4 separate regions of the Homo sapiens genome follow, and regions 2, 3 and 4 are each linked to region 1. Evidence: promoter capture Hi-C in 16 types of primary human blood cells and fetal thymus (Javierre and others, 2016). All regions are on one chromosome and are shown on one strand. Each heading gives the region's core, a stretch centred on a gene start or on the middle of the fragment in contact. The rest is flanking DNA. Distances are from core to core; before and after follow the strand shown. Region 1 holds the start of BACH2 (BACH transcriptional regulator 2). Region 2 holds the start of RRAGD (Ras related GTP binding D). Region 3 overlaps RRAGD (Ras related GTP binding D). Region 4 has its middle 6.6 kb from the start of UBE2J1.

Region 1 (2,700 bases), core at 171-2,670:
CTAGGACTTTTCCTTATCTGAAGGCCGGGTCGGTTAGCAGAGAAAATCTCACAGTCCCGTGCCAGACCTCCACGCAGGGACTCTGCAGTGCTGTTAGAAAAATTAGCTCAGCACCTTCAGCTTGCTTTCAGCCATCACTTAGCTTTCCACACAGACATTCCAAATGGGGCCTTTCAAAACTCTGCCCTCAAATGAAGGTAGTTCAGAGCAACACTTTAGATGATATCACAAGACTCCCAGGACGCTTCACTGCTTCCTCAGCATACGCCAGTGCCCGTTTTACAGGGGGGATTTATGATCCTTCTCTCAGTAGAGCGAGCCAAACTTTTATAATATTCATTAAAAATCAGCACCACGTGTAATAATATGGAATACTGCCTGTACACAAGAGGGCCAAGTTATAGGTGTTTAGGGAAACGTGGCAGAATTTTCTGGCCTTGGCAAGAGGTAAAGTTGCAGGCACCAGCACAACACTAACACAACCTTATTTTATTGCAAATGTACATTCAGCCTAAATCCTAATTACCTTCTGTAAAATCCTAACCACCACCAAGCTTTCTTCTGACAGGGCACTCACACGACGGCCTTTAAGGGCAGCAACAACATCCTAAGAGCCGCAGAAAGGAAAGGCAGGGGAGAGTGGCTGGAAGGCAGTAGGAGCTGGGGCTGAAGCCCGGGAGGTTGGCTTTTAATGTCCTCCTGAAATTGACCACTCTCTTTCCAAAAACACTGGCTTGGGGGCTTAAAGGTTCGCTCAGTAGGGCAGGCGGAGGGCCTCCTGAAAAGGATTGAGAAGTCAACATTCAAAAGGCTGCTTTTACTCGCCCGGTCCCCACCCAAAAGGGAGTCCGGTCAGCTTTGTGGGGGCCAGTGGAGCATCTTTTCTTGCCCTTCCGGGAAAACGCTAGCTAACCCTGGGATCCCCGGTCCCGACGTCTGCTCTCCTTCCCCAGGTGCAGCACCTAGGGCTCTGGCCCCCTCCCCACGTGCCACACCAGCCCTCACCACTACTCTCACCCTGCTATGCCCCCAACCCTCGTCTTTCGTGGCCGGGAAGGCCAGGCCGAGCGGGGCGGTCAGCCGGGCCGGGAGGAGGGGGCTCTCCGGGCCGCGCGGCCGCACAAAGCGGGGAGATCTGCTGCTGCGGCGGCATGAGGCGCGCCCCCTCCCGCGAGCCAGCGGAGCGCGCGCGCCCGCCCCCGTCCCCCGCCCCCCGCCCCAGCCCCCGGAGCGCCATTCGCGGAGCGGCTTACGCTAGTCGCCGGGCGTACCGCGCCCCAGCGGCCGGGGAGGTGCGCTGCCCGGCTCCCGTAAAGTTATTGTGAATGGGGAGCGGGTGACGTCAGCGCCGAATGTCAACAATGTAGCGATTGAGAGTGTGGGCGTTCCGGGGAGAGCGCAAGCCGCGCGGCGCGGAGCAAACAGCGCCGAGCCGCCGCCGCCTCAGCAGCAGCAGCAGCAGCAGCAGCGGCAGCAGCGGCCGTGCACGCCCGGGCTGCGGTCGCACAGCGCTAACGTGAGCGGCCGCCGCCCTCGCCACCCCGCCTGCCCACTCCCGCCGCCGCCCCGCTCTCGCTTTCCCCCCGGCCTCCCCTCGCCCCTTCCCCTCCCCCTTCCCGGCGCACTCGGGGGGCTGGGAACGAGCTGCCATGTGATGCGCGTCCCCTCCGCGAGCTTTCGGTGACCCACGAACTGCCCACCTCGCCGGCTGCCGGGAGGGGGCTGCGAGCCGGGAAGACGCGGGGAAGAGGAGGCGGAAAAGGACGCAAAGTTCTCCGGCGAGGTGAGTCCCGGGCCCCGGGCCCCGGGCCCCGCCGCTGGGCGGGGTGGCGGGGCAAGTTTGCGGGGGGAGCGGGCGCGCGGGGCGGGCGGGGAGGCGTGGGGAAACGGCGCGGGAAGGGAGCCCCGGCCGCCGGGCGCGCAGCCGCCCTCCCCGCGCCCTGCCCGCTTTTATGGCATTTTCTAGGAACGGGAAGGGGGTGGGAGCCGAGCCGGCGGCCGCGCCGCGCCGAATGTGTGCTCTCCCTCCCGGCTGTTTACGGCGGCCGAGGCGCATTGTATTTTGCTGGCGTCGAAGGGTGTTTTGGAACAGCAGAGGGAGGAGGAGCAGAGAGTAATAAGTCAGGCATGGGGAGGGCGGGCTGCAGGAGGCGCGCGTCCGCGCGAGCCGCAGCAGCTGTCAGACCCGCGGCCCTGCCCCCGGCCCGGCGAGGCCCGGGTGTCCCGGCCCCCAGCCTGCGATCCCAGCTCCAGGCCGGGCGGCCTCCTCCTTAACCCTCGGCGTGCGCATCCCGGGCTGCTCCGCGAGGACCTTGGCCGCGGCGCCTTTGCGCTCAGCTGTCAGCCGCCGCCGGGTGGCCCGGACCACCGCGACCGGCGGGGAATCAAAGCCCAAGTTTAGGGTCGCAGGAAGAGGCGAGCTGGGGGCCTCGCGGCGCAGACCTGGATCGAATCTCTCCTAGCGAAAGATCGGGTTGTCGGAAAGCGTCCCGCGTAGCTAAGACCTAAGGGCGCCAGGCTTCTGAGAGGGAAACCTTGCACCTCCTCTCCCACAGATCCTCCATGAAGTCAAGGTGCAACACACACACACACACACACACACACACACCCTACACTCCAGTCTCCAAGCCCCAGAAGCTTCACCCAGGAGACTGGTTTATGAAGGGGACACTGCCCTCCCCGTCCCCGCGTCGAGGCGCT
Region 2 (2,700 bases), core at 45-2,544, 880 kb after region 1:
AAAGTGTCTGCATCCACCTTCTGCACTCAGAAATACTAAAAAAAATCCAGGACATGAGTCATGATTTGGTAGACTGTGAGCTCCTTCAGGGCAGGAACACTGCCCTGAGCATTCTTGGACCCTCTACTTAGCCCAGCCTCAGGCATATAGGAGGTGGTTAATAAATGTTTCCTATGGAGGTTAGCACCCTTGGGCCCTGAGAGTCTCCTGCCCTAGCTTCCTCCCTCCGCTTCTGCACCGCACCACCGGCTGAGCTGCTGGCACCTGTAGGAGCTGGATCATCATGCTGACCGGCCGGTTTTTTCTTATTGTGCTCCACAGAAGGAAGTTCATCCACGTAATTTTTTGCAGTACCCAGAAAGGGTGGGTACAGTGTGTTCCGTGGTGAAAAGCTTGTGAAGGAGGAATGCAGGTTTTAGAGTCTCACTCCACGTTGCTGCTATTCCTATTTGAGAATTGCCCCCCCACCACCGCCACTCCCCTACTCCCACAAAAGCCTTGAAATATTTTATTCATGTGGGATTACAGTCTATGCAACAATGAGACATGAGGAGGTGGCCATGAATAGCCCCCGAGTGTGTTATACACTGAGACCTTTTCCAAAGGGCTGCAGAGGAATTATTTAGTCTAAGCAGCCACGAGTCATGTGATTTCTTCAGAAACATTTACGTCTGGGTAGGCCTGCTTTTTAAATATTCTTGGTGGGAAGCACTTTGAACCATAAAGGCACACTAAAAGACAATTGCTATGGAGACTGCGCCTCCACTGTGCATTTATCTGAGTTCTCCGCCTGGGGCTCTTGAGCGTCCACAGGGTGTCCTGGGCACGCTGCTCTGGGGTGGGGGATCTGGGCGCCACAGTGTTGGGAGGCCACCCGCTTGGGACCCTAGCTCAGGACTGTAAGCAGGAGGCATCCGCCCACGGTAGACGCTCTGCGGGCGTGTGGGAGTGGGACGGCGGGGGGGACATTGAGGGTGTGCGGCGCCCCCTCCCCTGCCTGTGCGGGGACCACGTGAAGGAGAGGCGCGTGGGGGCCCCTGGCGCGCAGCCGCGGTGGGTGACGGCCGGCGTCCCGGGGGCCCCGTGTACGGGGCGTGTGTCGGTGTGAGTCTGGGAGGGTGCAGGGGCCCCGCGCCTCCCCGGTCTCCTCGTGCGTGTGCGTGTGCGTGTGCATGTGTGTCCTCGGCCCAGCGCCCCGCCGAGTGGTGCCCGCGGCCGGGCGAGCGCGCGCGCGCCCGTGCGGGGTGTGTATGTGAGTATGTGACAGTGTGTGTCAGGTGACTCGGGTCACGCAGTCTCTCTCTCTCTCCCTCCTCCGGGAGGAACTGCCGCGCTCCGGCTGACTCCTCCGCCGGCGGGCGGGGCGGGGGAGGGGGCTTCGGGCGCGCTGGGAACCGCGGGACCCGGACCTGGGCGCCGCCCGCCGGGGGACGCGCGGCCCCCGCTTCCGCCGGGCCCCGCTGAGCTCTAGACAAACCTCCGCTTCAGAAATAGGCTGCGGGCGGCCGGCTAGGAGGCTTGGCCCCCACCCCGGGACCCCCGCCGTCCCCGGGCCGGCCGGCCGGTGGGCACGATGAGCCAGGTGCTGGGGAAGCCGCAGCCGCAGGACGAGGACGACGCGGAGGAGGAGGAGGAGGAGGATGAGCTGGTGGGGCTAGCGGACTACGGAGACGGGCCCGACTCCTCCGACGCCGATCCGGACAGCGGCACAGAGGAGGGAGGTGAGCGCCCGGCCCCCGCGTCCTCGGCTCGCGCCCCTTTCCTCCCCTTGGCGCCTTCCCGCCCCCAGCCCGGCCGTGCGCGAGCCACCGACTTGGAGGGGGTCCAGGGGAGCGGGTCCAGTTGAGGGTTTGGGGTGGGGAGGGACGCCAAAAGCCCGACCTCGAGCTGCCAAATGAGGGAGCGCGGTGCTGGTGGCGGAGGGGCAACCAGGATCGGTGGAAAAGGGGAAGGAGGGAGTAAGCGTCTGGGCTGGAGGAGCGCGCGCTTCTGCCCCTTTCAGAGCCGGTGCCTCCCGCGCCCCTCACCCCAAGCTCTCCGCAGCGTCTGGCGGTTGGGGAGGGGAGGGGACCGCGGGCGCGCCCTGGGACCTCTCTCCCAGAACGGTGCTGTTGAAGCCAGGGTCAGATGTCGTGGCTAAAAAAAGGCAGCCGGCGGCGGCGTGACTGGCAGGGTCGTCGGCAGCTGCGGGTGTCAGTCTCGCCCCGCGTCGCCGCGGGAGGGGCCCACCCAGGTAGTGGCTGGGGAGACCCGCGGGGCGGCGGGGGGATGCTCGCCAAGCTGTTGTGGGAGTCTCCGAGAGGCCGCAGATTTCCCGGGATCCACGCAAACACCGTTGTCAGGACACCTTATCTGCTCTCGGTATCACCACCTGGACATGGCAGTGCCTGCCCGGGAGTGAGCGCGCGGCGGGGAATTCTTTGCTTCAATAGTGAAGCAAACTCTTTTTCCTGTTCTAGAAGCGGGTTTTAGCAATCGTTCAGCTTGTGGGGGCTTCCTGCATTTTCTTAAGGTGTAAGGAAGTTGAGAGCCTTTTAGTATTCCAGAGAGGTTAAACTTTTTTTAGTTTCCCTCAGAAGCGAGCAAAAGTTCCTTTACTGTAAGGTCACTTGGAAAGGTCAATAGAAAGCGGCTGTTAAACATGATGTTATTCTCAGTGAAACTGTATGCATCCAAGAGAAGGAACTAACTTTAATGTTT
Region 3 (2,700 bases), core at 193-2,692, 920 kb after region 1:
AGCACATGCCTGTAGTCCCAGCTACTTGGGAGGCTGTGGTGGAAGGAGTACTTACTTGAGCCCAGGAGTTTGAGGCTAAAGTGAGCCATGATTGTGCCACTGCACTCCAGCCTGGGCATCAGAGCGAGAACTTGTCTCTAAAAATAAAATATAACTACTCAGATGCATTCCTGCACTTCACTGGTATAATTGGAGGGTTTATTCAAGCCTGTAGGCAATCATTCAATATTAATAGAGCCCCACCAGAGGTAGGGAACATAAAACTTGGCTTTATTGATAAGACGCAAACTGTTGAATAGCTTTTTATAAGTTTAACATGCTATGAGTGATGTGCTGAATGAACCCTACACATCACCAGCTCCAGGTAGGCGCTGCTGAGTTGAATTGAGGCAGACCTATTGGTTATACTCACGTTTACTCTGTCACTACACAATTTTGAGTGTGTTTGTTTAGTGTTTCTAAGCTTATTTTAAAATTTACAGTCAGTAAAAGTATTTTTACTTGGCCTTTTCCTAATTGCAGGTATGTATCTCTACGAGTTAGGAAATATTGCTCAATTTGGTTACCTAAAATAAATAATTTGTGGTCATTCGAATTCTTTTTTTTTTTTTGAGACGGAGTTTTGCTCTTGTTGCCCAGGCTGGAGTGCAATGGCGCCATCTCGGCTCACCGCTACCTCCGCCTCCTGGGTTCAAGCAGTTCTCCTTCCTCAGCCTCCCGAGTAGCTGGGATTACAGGCATGCACCACCACGCCTGGCTAATTTTGTATTTTTAGTAGAGACAGGTTTCTCCCGGTTGGTCAGGCTGGTTTCGAACTCCTGGCCTCAGGTGATCTGCCCGCCTTGGCCTCCCAAAGTGCTGGGATTACAGGCGTGAGCCACCATGCCCGGCCTCTACTTTTTATTTCTTATGCAAGTCCAGTATAGAGAAGTTTATGACAGTGAAGTTTAAATTGTAATAAAATGATACAATTTAAATTTTTAGTAGCGAGTTTTGCTCATTTTGTATTTTACATTAAGAATGGCATTCAATTTTGTGTAGTCATGACATGGTCTGAAGTTGACTGTTGCTTTAAGGCAACTTTTTTTTTTAAATTTCAGAATTCTGGAATTGAAAAGGCATTTCTATTTGATGTGGTCAGTAAAATTTATATTGCAACTGATAGTACTCCGGTGGATATGCAAACCTATGAGCTCTGCTGTGATATGATAGATGTGGTTATTGACATCTCTTGTATTTATGGGTAAGTACAACATTCTTAAAGGCCACAATCAAGCCATCCTTCCTTCATAACCTTTCAGGCATTTTGCATTTACATTTACTTACTTAACTTTAACATTTTTGTCTTAAATGACTGAAATCTATAAATAAATATACCAGTTAGCATGCAATAATAACAGTTATTGAGCAAATGCCACGCATTATGCTAATCTCATTGCATGCTTCCTATTATTTATTTCAATTTTTTAGCAATAGGGTGTCCCTGTGTTGTCCAGGATAGATCACTCCTGGGCTCAAATGATCCTCTCACCTCAGCCTCTCGAGTAGCTGGGATTATAGGCATGAGCCACTGTGCCCAGGTTATCATTTAATTCTCAACTATTCGATGTGGCAGGAATTACATTTGACCCTTGAACAACACAGGGGTTGGGGTACCAACCCTTTGAACAGTCAAAAAGCCACATATATTTCCCCCCTGACAAACTTAACTATTAATACTAATAGTCTACTGTTGACTGGAAGCCTTACCAATAACATGAATGATTGATTAACACACATTTTGTATGTTATGTATTACGCACTGTATTCTTAACAATAAAGTGAGCTACAGAGAAGAAATTATAAGAAAGAATATATTTACTATTTATTAAATGGAAGTGGGTCATCATAAAGGTCTTTACCCTCATTGTCTTCACATTGAGTAGGCTGAGGAGGAGGAAGAGAAGGGGTTGATTTTGCTGTCTTAGGAGTGGCAGAAGCGGAAGAAAATCCATGTATAAGTGGACCTAGGCAGTTCAAATCTGTGTTGTTTAAGGTCAACTGTAGTGTATTCACTTTACAGATGAAAAAACTGAGGTTCAGAGTGGTTACATTTCTTACTCTTGCTCACACTATCAGTAAGGATTGGAACTGGAGTTTCAACTCAGATCTGATTCCTGATCCTCTGCTGAAAAAAATCTGTTAACATACCGTTCTTAGAAAACAGAGCTTCCTATACACTTAATATAAAATAAACAAGGAGTGGGGGAAACTGATTATGTTACCCGATGTAGAAACAATTCTACATAATTATAAATGTGCTGAACAGGTGGTGTACAGACTGACTAGGTGTGAACTAGTTGTTCATCTTATTAAGATGTTAAGGTGTTGCTATCTGTATTGTATCTGACATCCTCATCTAATCGATGAGGTAAAGCTTTTGCTCATCTTCCTCTTTACTCACTGCCTGTGACCTGCCTTACACAGCTTGACGCTCTGCCTTTCAGCTTTTGTGAGAGTCTAGTCTCCATTTTTCTCTTCCATTGCTTAAAAATCCTTTGCCCACTCAGCTCGGATTCTCTCTGTTAACTGTTAGACACACACACACACACACACACACACACACACACACACCACACACACATGGAAAGTGATACTTACAAGATTGTATTGAGGATGAAATATCATTAGGCTCATAACGTGCCTTTACCTGGTAGACTC
Region 4 (2,700 bases), core at 121-2,620, 940 kb after region 1:
GAAATTCTGAGTAAGTTCCTGAATTTTTCTTTCATTTGATCATGGCCTTCTAGTGTTTACTAAAGTGGTTTTTCTTTTCACTGCCATCCTTGGGTATTTTTGTATGCTGGGTTGTATTACGGGTGAAGGGTTGATGGGGTTGTAGGCCTGAGAGGATCATTTTTATTACAGACTCTATCCTTGACTATAATATGATAGCGTTACATGGAGTTTAGTGACTCATGAGCTCATGTCTGACTCCTAAGGGGTCCTTTGTTAATTCAGATGACATTGGTCTTATCCGTTATCAAGAATCCATGAGTTTGGCTGGGTGTGGTGGTTCATGCCTGTAATCCTAGCACTTTGGGAGGCCGAGGCGGGTGGATCACAAAGTCAGGAGTTCAAGACCAGCCTGACCAACATGGTGAAACCCCGTCTCTACTAAAAATACAAAAATTAGCCAGGAGTGGTGGCACGCACCTATAATCCCAGCTACTCAGGAGGTTGAGGCAGGAGATTCGCTTGAACCCGGGAAGCAGAGGTTGCAGTGAGCCGAGATCGCGCCACTGGGCGCCAGCCTGGGCAACAGAGCGAGACTCCGTCTCAAAAAAAAAAAAAAAAAAAAAAAGAATCCATGAGTTTGCCCTTTTGTGCTATTTTGAAAGGGAGCTGATCCAGTGACTACACTCAGGAGGGTGGGGGCATTAACTGGTGTCCAGCTGCCTGAGACCTTGACCATCTTGCTTCCTCAATCTTTCCTAATAAGCTCCTGGGGCCAGCAGGGTTATTCTATTCTTCCAAAATTGAGAGTCATGAAACCAATCCCCCTCTCATGAAAGGCCAACTATGATAGAGCAATTTAAACCTCAGTCCCATGCTAACCCTCATCACCACGTGGAGAATTCCATTCCTACAAGCTGCTTTTGTTTGCCTTCTGCTTTCATTATTGCCTAAGTCCCTAAGAGGGCTGCTACTCAGTTTTCTCCCCTCTGGCTTTGCAGAGAGCTAAGCCCCATAGTACTCAACTTTCCTCACCTAGATAGCCAATAACTTGGAACTAATTCTGGCCTTCTCCCAGACTGCTTATAAGGTGGCCTTGGTAATTAGGCTTTTGTTTCTTTTCCCTGGGAAGCAGTGCAGTAAAGGGGGTGACTGCGGGAGACAGTCCTATGTATCTTTCCATCTCCGTAGGAGAGGAAGGAATTCACTTAGCTTTATAAGGTGCAAGAAACGGTGCCACCAATACACATAGTACTGTTTCATTTAATGCTCTAGGCCCATATTTTCCAAAGTTACCTGATTTTATGAATCATCTAGAGTGCTTAAGGATGCAGATTCCCAGCCCCATCCCGGTCTTCTTGAATCAGAATCTCCAGGGAGAAATACAGAAATCTGTATTTTTAAATAAGGACCCTAAACAATTCTTATAATTTGTGAGACACTGTTTTCTCTGTAGTTGTTTAAAGGGATAGGGAGGGGAAATGGTAGGGGATTAGGGTTGCAATCACCTAGGGGAGCTTTCTTGCATCCTCCATACCTACATACACATCAACACCCCAAGTGTTAGCATTTTTTCCAACTTGATTATGCAGCTTTAAGAGTTTATATTATTTAACCTATATTTCAAATGTAGACTTTTGTGAATGTAAATAATTTTAAGTCTATTTAAACCATTTATTGATTCAGTATTTAAATACTCATTTACATCTAATAGCACAAATTATGCAAATGGTACTAATTTAGAAAAATTGGTTTTTCCTCAAACAATTTTATTCAAATACTTCACATGCATCGTTTACAACTGGGTCTCTATCATCACTGAAACAACATTGTGAGTCCTCTAACAGTTCCCTCCTAGTTATCTAAGGTAGAGCATGCCTTACATTGAGTAGAATGCTGTCAGTGGAGATTTTACTACATCTCGAGAACCACTTGTTAAACATCAGGGTTTTTTTCCTACATATTCATAATCACCATAAATAAGTACTTCTTGTATTTCTCTGTTCAATAATTATTTAAAAGCCTACTTAATGATCTCCAATACTTGTTATCCAAAGTCATACCCTCAGGAATAATTAATCAATATGTCTTTGCCTTTTTTCCCCTGATTTTGCTAGGTGACCTTTATAAGACAGAAAATTGCCATTACTTGTGACCCTTTCACGACATATTGTCTTCCTGAAGAGTATTTTGTTCAAAAAGGACAAAGACAAAAACACAAGGTGACTCTCTTTTCTGAGGAATGATATTTTTGGAAAAATTTTGCTTTCCATTCTGCATATATGGTATATATTACTATTTAATAGCATCTGTACCCACCCCCTTTTTTTGCATAGAGACAGGGTCTCACCATGTTAGCCAGGCTGGTCTTGAATTTCTGGCCTCAAGCGATCCTCCCCTCCACCTCCACCTCCCAAAGTTTTAGGATTACAGGTATGAGCCATCGCGCCCAGCCAGCATCTGTACCTAGACCCAACTTGAATTCCCCAAAGAAGTTAAACTGGCTCCAGTATTTTCTCACAAGATGCTAGAAGGCAAATTGTGGCATACCTATACCTTCTGGTTGGTTAGTGCTGAAAAAAGTACAGGACTACTTTTGAGAAGTTGACGATGTGGTTATCATTCAAAGTTTGCCTATAATTGTAACTTGGGTTTTAATGGGAAGCAGTGTAGTACTGATTGTTCTGAAGACAATAATATTGTCGAAATGCCCCATGGCTG

Evidence for each region. Contacts are between HindIII fragments. The CHiCAGO score rates a contact against its expected background, and 5 or more counts as called.
Region 2: a contact is called between the fragment with the promoter of RRAGD here and the fragment with the promoter of BACH2 in region 1, in 1 of 17 cell types (fetal thymus). The highest score is 9.5, in fetal thymus.
Region 3: a contact is called between a fragment that was not itself captured here and the fragment with the promoter of BACH2 in region 1, in 1 of 17 cell types (fetal thymus). The highest score is 6.9, in fetal thymus.
Region 4: a fragment that was not itself captured here is called in contact with the fragment with the promoter of BACH2 in region 1 in 1 of 17 cell types (fetal thymus); the score reaches 6.7 in fetal thymus.

What each region holds. Positions count from the first base shown.
Region 1 is chr6:90,295,563-90,298,262 of GRCh38, reverse strand. It overlaps BACH2 (BACH transcriptional regulator 2), which reads left to right and starts at 1,420. Exons shown (of 9, transcript NM_021813.4): 1 at 1,420-1,783. LOC105377891 (a long non-coding RNA gene) reads right to left here and starts at 1,024. Exons shown (of 7, transcript XR_942778.4): 1 at 527-1,024. RefSeq lists silencers at 1,507-1,556, 2,182-2,241. The HindIII fragment of the contact is 2,083 bases long and covers 557-2,639 here.
Region 2 is chr6:89,410,867-89,413,566 of GRCh38, reverse strand. RRAGD (Ras related GTP binding D) reads left to right here and starts at 1,294. Exons shown (of 7, transcript NM_021244.5): 1 at 1,294-1,721. The coding sequence starts at 1,574. RefSeq lists silencers at 878-2,067, 2,098-2,207, 2,238-2,337. The HindIII fragment of the contact is 2,415 bases long and covers 395-2,700 here.
Region 3 is chr6:89,376,214-89,378,913 of GRCh38, reverse strand. RRAGD (Ras related GTP binding D) reads left to right here. Exons shown (of 7, transcript NM_021244.5): 5 at 1,101-1,243. Among named protein-coding and RNA genes, the nearest start is that of UBE2J1, 25 kb to the right of the region's middle. The HindIII fragment of the contact is 1,953 bases long and covers 466-2,418 here.
Region 4 is chr6:89,357,950-89,360,649 of GRCh38, reverse strand. No RefSeq gene overlaps it. Among named protein-coding and RNA genes, the nearest start is that of UBE2J1, 6.6 kb to the right of the region's middle. The HindIII fragment of the contact is 6,763 bases long and covers 1-2,700 here.